Regions from separate parts of the Homo sapiens genome. Here region 2 is linked to region 1. Evidence: promoter capture Hi-C in 16 types of primary human blood cells and fetal thymus (Javierre and others, 2016). All regions are on one chromosome and are shown on one strand. Each heading gives the region's core, a stretch centred on a gene start or on the middle of the fragment in contact. The rest is flanking DNA. Distances are from core to core; before and after follow the strand shown. Region 1 holds the start of ELOA2 (elongin A2). Region 2 has its middle 180 kb from the start of SMAD2.

Region 1 (4,096 bases), core at 892-3,391:
AGTGATAAAAATTCAGAATTCAGTAAGAGTAAAGCAGGAAAAGAGAGTTTTAAAAACACTATTCCAAATGTAGTGTTAAATATTTAAGATGAGCTTCTGTTACTGAAAACACAGAATGCAGTCTTACAAATTTCTTAATTAAAGGTATAAAGTTGGCCAGATCTACATCTTTCTGCCCAGGCCATTCAAATTAACCTAGAAAATTATCTTCTGAATTAAAAAAAACTAAGAATGAGCCATTCCCCGCAAAAAGGATCCATTTAAACTGTAAGAGATGGTGTGCCCCTGAAATGGACACAATTACATGCTCATTAATTTCTGTGTACAAAGAAAGGAGGCCCAGAAGTGAACATCTAATCTAGGTGTCTCATTTGCATGTTTCAATAATCTGGCTGTTTTTGTTTTCTTTCATTTCCTTTGTGGGCTATTGTGCCACAAATATACCTCCATTATCAAATTCAAAATTGAATCCTATGATACCATAGCCTGAGGAAAAGGAAGCATTGAATATCATTCCCAGTTTTAGACCCAGAAGATATTTAGGAAATGTTACTGTATATACACCACATGCAACATTAGTGCTTTTAATTTCCTTTTTACGGGTGCAATGGAGATTAATTTGCATGAGCTCGTTTCAATTTCAGTAATAAGATCCAAATTTTGCATTAAGCTTTCAATCTCAAAAACAAACAGTTAAAAAGCATACATCACTTCTTTCAAATGTCTTTACTATACTTCTGTTTTACAGTCCCTGCATCTAATATTCCCCTAAAAGGTTGAATATATATACCTGTAGGTTCTAATTTGTTTCTTGTTTGTTTCCTGACTATCTCCTGGCTCTGCCAGGAAACTTCCTAACTTTCAAATGCTGTACAACCCAAAAAAATGCTAGAAATATCAAAAGAAGTGTCTACAGATCCAGAAAAGACATTTATTGAATTTAATACAATGTCAGAATTGGTCAACTATGCTCAGAAACATAGGACCAAGTGTTCCCTAATTTGAGAGGGTAAATAAGTAACAACAGAAATAAGAGAAAAAACCATAGATATTTCAAATGATCCTGTTTTAATAATTGTCACTGAAAATTAAAGTCCGATCCAGATACCAAATCTGTTTCAACAATAATAGCTAGAGACAAGAGTAAAAATTTCTTTAAAGTTTTAAAACAGGTGGAAGAAGATCCAGAAATATTTATTCCAAGATTTGTAAGCGGGGATAAAACATGGCTACACTGGATAGTCCTGAAGAAAGAGCACAAAACAAAGGCTACCAAAAGGTGGCAGCACTCCAGTCAAAGACAGAGAGGACCAGTCAAGAGAAGAGGTCATGGCAACAGTTTTGGGGAATGCTCAAAAGATATGACTAAAAGACTTTTTGAAGGGCCAAACCAAGATCAAATATGCTTACTAACAGAGTTTTTGAGAAAACTAGCCAAAGCATGAGCAGAAAAACCATTACCAGAGAGTTCTACCTAATCATGAAAAAGTTCTTGCTGTAGCATTTCACTGAACAAAGGGCAGTTTGGCAAGAGTTTCAAAAGGAGATCATGAGGCGTCCACCTTGCAGTCATGATGTGGAACCTGCTGACTTCTATTTATTTCCTCGTATTAAAAATTCTGCAAACGGCACCCAGTTTTCTTCAGTTAATAATGGAAAAAAGATTTCTTGGAAATAGTTAAATTCCCAGAAACATCAGGGCTTGAGGGACAAGGCGGGGTCAAGACAGTGCTCGAACTACTGTCTCGAAATTGATGGAGCAGATGTTAAGAAATAAAATCTACCGGTTTTATTTTTGTCTTTTAATCCCTGTTTTGACAAATTTGGGAAGTCCCCTCACACAACATCAGTCCTAGGCAAAGAGTTGTTATCCTGTATTGGTTCTTCTTTCTATGATTTTGTCTTGCTGTGTTATTTTCTGTTTTACTCCCAAGAAGATTCAGTCTGTGTTTTTTGGAATTCACAGATGTGGAACCTGCGAACATGGAAGGTCAACGGTAAAACTCAGTGGGGTGTGTCGAGGCTGAAATTAACCTAATCAACCTCTGGGGCACAGCAGTCCACCTGGCGTGGACCGTCCCGATTGTCTGCATTGTGCTGACGGCATGAGTACGTATGGGGGCGGGGCAGCCCAAGAGCTAAGAGGGTCAGGGCTAGAGCCGTGAGTGTCAGCCTGGGATGGGCTACATAAGGCCCAGCTCTGGCACCAGAGCTTCATTCTTTGTTGCACAGCAAACTGCAGAGGTCACTCCAGGCTGTGGCTCCACATCCCGAGGAACAAAAGCGGGCCTGCTCAGCTGTCTGCAAGGACGGCCGTTCCAGACCAAGTGGCCTGCTGCTCCGAGGACCCAGCTCGCTCCAGGCTGTGACTCCACATCCCGAGGTCGCTGCCTGGCGACCGGGCAGCGAGGACCGGCCACCCCAGACTTCCTGTCCCGCAGCCCCAAAGACAGAGCTGCGACCGCCGGGACAGCGACGCCTGCACAGCTCTGGTGAGATGGCGGCAGGGTCCACTACGCTGCACGCAGTGGAGAAGCTGCAGGTGCGTCTGGCCACTAAGACGGAGCCGAAAAAGCTAGAGAAATATTTGCAGAAACTCTCCGCCTTGCCCATGACGGCAGACATCCTGGCGGAGACTGGAATCAGAAAGACGGTGAAGCGCCTGCGGAAGCACCAGCACGTGGGCGACTTTGCCAGAGACTTAGCGGCCCGGTGGAAGAAGCTGGTGCTCGTGGACCGAAACACCCGGCCTGGCCCACAGGACCCTGAGGAGAGCGCTTCCCGACAGCGCTTCGGGGAGGCTCTTCAGGACCAGGAAAAGGCCTGGGGCTTCCCAGAAAACGCGACGGCCCCCAGGAGCCCATCTCACAGCCCTGAGCACAGACGGACAGCACGCAGAACACCTCCGGGGCAACAGAGACCTCACCCGAGGTCTCACAGTCGCGAGCCCAGAGCTGAGAGAAAGTGCCCCAGAATAGCCCCAGCTGATTCCGGCCGCTATCGGGCCTCTCCAACGCGCACAGCTCCCCTCCGGATGCCCGAGGGCCCTGAGCCCGCTGCGCCCGGGAAGCAACCCGGAAGAGGCCACACTCACGCGGCTCAGGGCGGGCCTCTGCTGTGTCCAGGCTGCCAGGGCCAACCCCAGGGGAAAGCCGTTGTGAGCCACAGCAAGGGGCACAAATCGTCTCGCCAGGAAAAACGCCCCTTGTGTGCCCAGGGAGATTGGCACTCCCCTACTTTGATCAGGGAGAAATCATGCGGGGCCTGCTTAAGAGAGGAAACCCCAAGGATGCCCTCCTGGGCAAGTGCCAGGGACAGGCAGCCTTCGGACTTCAAGACAGACAAGGAAGGGGGGCAAGCTGGCAGCGGCCAGCGTGTCCCTGCCTTGGAGGAGGCTCCAGACAGTCACCAGAAGAGGCCTCAGCACAGTCACTCGAACAAGAAGAGGCCCAGTCTAGACGGCCGGGACCCAGGAAATGGGACACACGGCCTGTCGCCCGAGGAGAAAGAGCAGCTTTCCAACGACCGAGAGACTCAAGAGGGGAAGCCACCGACTGCTCATTTGGACAGAACGTCCGTGAGCTCCCTCTCTGAGGTGGAGGAGGTAGATATGGCTGAGGAATTCGAGCAGCCCACTCTGTCATGTGAAAAATACCTCACCTACGATCAGTTGCGGAAGCAAAAGAAAAAGACTGGAAAATCTGCCACCACTGCACTTGGAGATAAACAAAGGAAAGCAAACGAATCCAAGGGCACTCGTGAGTCCTGGGATTCGGCTAAGAAATTGCCTCCTGTCCAGGAAAGCCAGTCAGAGAGGCTGCAGGCGGCCGGCGCTGATTCCGCCGGGCCGAAAACGGTGCCCAGCCATGTCTTCTCAGAGCTCTGGGACCTCTCAGAGGCCTGGATGCAGGCCAACTACGATCCGCTTTCGGATTCTGACTCCATGACCTCCCAGGCAAAGCCAGAAGCACTCTCTTCACCAAAGTTCCGGGAGGAAGCTGCTTTCCCTGGACGCAGAGTGAATGCTAAGATGCCGGTGTACTCGGGCTCCAGGCCTGCCTGCCAGCTCCAGGTGCCGACGCTGCGCCAGCAGTGT
Region 2 (4,096 bases), core at 1,150-3,649, 720 kb before region 1:
GGGGCAACACGGGCTGTTCTTTTAGATAGGGTGGTCAGGGTAGGCCTCATGGAGGGGAACTTGGGCAGCCATCTGAAAACTGTGATGGAGTTAGCCGTGTGGCTGTCTGCGGGAGGGCATTGCAGGCAGAAGGAAGGGCAGTGGTGCAAGATGGGACTGTGCTTGGTATCTGTTGAGTGGGCCAGCCTGGCTGGAACAAAATGAGCAGGGAGGAGAAATGTAGAAGCTGTGGTTGGATTCGAGCATGTGGGGCCTTGGAGGCCATTGAGAGGACTTTGGCTTTAATGGTGAATAAGATGGGCTGTGGGGGTTTTGAGCAGGGAGGGACCTGATTCTACCCATGTTTCACCAGGTCATTCTGGCTGGCATGTGGCAGGTGGAGGGATAGAGGCGGGGACATGGGGCAAGTGTGGAGGACAGTTAGAAGCTACTGCAATGGTCCAGGTGTGAGATGGCATCCCCAGACCCCATCGGCGATGCTACTGCCTCTGTGTTTGGTGGTGGGGCTGGTCCCTCATCTAAGTCCTTCTCAGCCCTAATAGAGATGCCCGCACCTGCCCCACCTGGCTGTGCCAAAGCCTGCCCTGGAATTGAGATGGTGACACCCTCCCTGCCCTGACCCTTGCCCTTGAGAGAAGCCTCAGATCCTGTCTAGTGGTCCAGAGGCCTGGTTCTTCCTCCCAGCTCTGACTCTGAGTGTTTCCAGCCATTTTTTTCATACCTCTGTGCTTCAGTTTCCTCACTATAAAACTGATAAGTGGCCAGGCGCGGTGGCTTATGCTTGTAATCCCAGCACTTTGGGAGGCCGAGGCTGGTGGATCACGAGGTCAGGAGATGGAGACCATCCTGGCTAACATGTGAAACCCCGTCTCTACTAAAAATACAAAAAATTAGCTGGGCGTGGTGGTGCGCACCTGTATTCCCAGCTACTTGGGAGGCTGAGGCAGGAGAATTGCTTGAATCTGGGAGGCGGAGGTTGCAGTGAGCCAAGATCATGCCATTGCACTCCAGCCTGGGTGACAGAGCAAGACTCCATCTCAAAGAAAACAACAAAAAACAAAAAACAAAAAACTGATGAGTACATTGCCTGTTCTAGGCAATTGCCTGTTCTAGGCCAGGCATGGGGGCTATAGACATGAGTAGGCTCTCCAGGAGTCTGTGGGTCCTGCAAGAGGGCAAAAAGGAAACAGAAGCATGGGACAGCATAGGTATCAGGGACTCTGTATTATTTTAAAAGTGTGCAAGGAACATGTGGGAAGGAAAGACTGGACCGATTCTGCCTGGAGCAGGGAGAGAATGCTTCCTGGAGGAGGCAGCTATTAAACTGAGGCAGGAAGGAGAAGTCAGCGTTCACTAGGCAGACAGTAGGAAATGGTGTATCTGGCAGAGAACAGCAGGTGCTAGGGCTTGGAGATGCAAAAGTGACAGTTAAAAGATATCACCTTAAAATTATTGAATTTTAGAGCCAGAAGGGACCTTGGAGATCATGAAATCTAGTGGGTTTTCAAACATGTTTTGGTCTTATTTCAAGCATATGTAGAATTCCATTGTATACACCAGTTAATATTAATAGCTAACATTCATTGAGCGTTTACCGTATGCCAGACACTTTACCTGTGTTAATTCAATTACTTTTCCCAACAATCCTTTGAGTTAGGTTACTACTAACATCTTAATTTATAGATGAGGAAAATGAGGCATAGAGGAGTTAAGAAACTTGCTCATGGTCACACAGTGTCAGTGAAAAGGCTAGGAATTGAACCCAGGTAGCCTGGTTCCTAGCCTAGGCATGTGGTTACCAGGCTGTATGGCCTCTGTAGATGTGAAGGTGGAGCTGCTTGTTTAAGGAGGGGTGGTACCCAAAAGGCCTTGTCCCCTCCTCATCCACACATTTCCCGCTGAGACCCATGGATATAACCTGCCAGCAAGAGGCTCCCTCTGAAACCACTGATTTAGATCAATCATATGATGGAGAAGCCATATCTGTCAGGTTATGCCATAGATTCCAAGGTTGTCCTGTAATGATGAGTAAGCCAGGGAAGGCTTTCTGGGGAGGGAGTGCCCATTTCATGTCATTAACACCCATTCTCTAACCATGTGGGGTGTTTTCTAGCAAAAGCTTCAGCCTTGTGGGGAGGATGCATGGGGGTTGGCAGGACAGCACATGGCTTGGTTTCCAGCCAGGACTCCTTGGTCGGTTTTCTTCAGCACTGAAGTACTCAGGTCCCAGGCCTGAGGGCAGAGGCAGGAGGAGCAAGACTCTCAGCGGACTCCATGTGGTTGATGATTGGCAGGTGGAGATGAGGAGCATGTGGGAAGTCTGCAGGTCCCAGGCAGAAAGTGCACTGCCAGGGCATCAGTGCAGGTCCCGGACATCAGTGCAGCGCCAGAGCATCAGTGCAGGTTCCGGGCAGGGCATCAGTGCAGTGCCAAGGCATCAGTGCAGTGGGTAGGAGGGACAACCCCCTTCACACTGACCGCCCCCCTCAGCTTGCTTTAAAACAGAAGAGGGTGGGATTTTGCCTTGGTGTCGGGAAAGGGCACGGTTATGTGAGGGCTGGTGGACAGGGGAGCAGTAGTTTGATTCTTGTTGGAGGCCACCCCTCCCAGTTCCCCTTACTGAGGGATTGGGGGGTACTAGAAACCCTCTGAGCTTCCAGGTCCTCATTCTAAGCTTCTAGTGTCAGCTTCCAGGGGCCAGTGGAGACCCTGCCTCCTCCAGGGTTCTTTCCTGACCTCCCAGCCCGTAGGGTCCTCGGTCCCTTGGGGCATCACTAGATCCCTCTCTGGTTCTTGCTGGTACTTTTGGCCACAGCTTTACACCCTGCTTTCCCATCCCTAGGTGCTGTTTCCCCCAGGTGGGCATCCAGCCTGTTCCAGGTATTGATTCATCCAGCATTTAGTGAGTGGCTACTCCAGGCGTCAGGCACCAAGAGGGGCCTGCCCCTCAGCAGCTCCCAGTGTGGTGTGTGTGTGTGTGTGTATGTACATGTGTGTATGTCTATATGTATGTGTACATGTATATGTATGCATATATATGAGATGTGTGCATGTGTATACGTGTGCATGTGTGTATGTATATGTGTATATGTGTGTATGTGTATATGGGTGTATGTGTGTGCATATCTTTGTATACATGTGTATATGTGTTTATATCTGTGTGTATGTGTGTATATGTATGTGTATGCATGTATATGCATGTGTGTATAAGTGTATGAATATGTGTGTATAAATGTATGTATATGCATATGTGTATAAATGTGTGTATGTATATGCATATGTGTATATAAATGTGTGTATGTATATGGGTTTATAAGTGTATGTATATATGTGTATGTGTGTATAAACGTGTGTATGTATGTATAAGTGTGTGTATGTATATGTGTATGTGTGTATGTATGTGTATGTGTGTGTATGTATATTTGTATAAATGTGTGTATGTATATGTGTGTGTATGTATATTTGTATAAATGTGTGTATGTATATGTATGTATAAGCATGTATATGTATGTTTATGTATATGTGTGTATATGTGTGTATGTGTGTATATGTGTGTGTGCATGTGTGTGTATATGTGTGTATCTGTGTCAGACTGACAACTGAGCAGGGAGACCAAGTCAATGACTGTGGTTTGGTCTGAGGAGGGCTGAGACACACACAGGCTGAGGGCCCAAACTTACCCTGAAAACTGCGGCCGAGCCCAGTAGCGGCCATCCCAGTAGCAGGTATGGGAGGCTCTTGTTAACGACCCTATCAGTGGTCCGCAAATCCACCAGAAAGGCGTAGCGTCCTTGTTAATTTCAGGCCTCTCAAAAGCAGCCCTGCCCAGCCTGTCCTGGCCCTCTCCCCTGAACATGTCATCCCTAAAATCTTGACCTCCTACACTTAAGGAGGGCCCTCCTTCCCTCCATCAACCCCATGCCCAAAGCAATCCCCTAAATCCACAGCATCCCGAATTCCAGTAACCCTTTAGAGGTTCGCGCATCCCATTACTGTTTTGGCCCTGTCCTGTCCTGCGTGGGCCAGCCAGTGTGATGTTGGTTCCTTAGCAGCCCTGGGGAGAAGCAGAGGGCGGGGGGCGTGGGGAGAGTCGAAG

Evidence for each region. The method cuts DNA at HindIII sites, captures the fragments that hold promoters and counts their contacts. A CHiCAGO score of 5 or more calls a contact.
Region 2: a fragment that was not itself captured here is called in contact with the fragment with the promoter of ELOA2 in region 1 in 1 of 17 cell types (total CD8 T cells); the score reaches 5.7 in total CD8 T cells.

What each region holds. Positions count from the first base shown.
Region 1 is chr18:47,033,666-47,037,761 of GRCh38, reverse strand. It overlaps ELOA2 (elongin A2), which reads left to right and starts at 2,141. Exons shown (of 1, transcript NM_016427.3): 1 at 2,141-4,096. The coding sequence starts at 2,498. All of the region lies in intron 3 of KATNAL2 (katanin catalytic subunit A1 like 2), which reads right to left. The HindIII fragment of the contact is 9,917 bases long and covers 673-4,096 here.
Region 2 is chr18:47,749,418-47,753,513 of GRCh38, reverse strand. No RefSeq gene overlaps it. Among named protein-coding and RNA genes, the nearest start is that of SMAD2, 180 kb to the left of the region's middle. The HindIII fragment of the contact is 555 bases long and covers 2,122-2,676 here.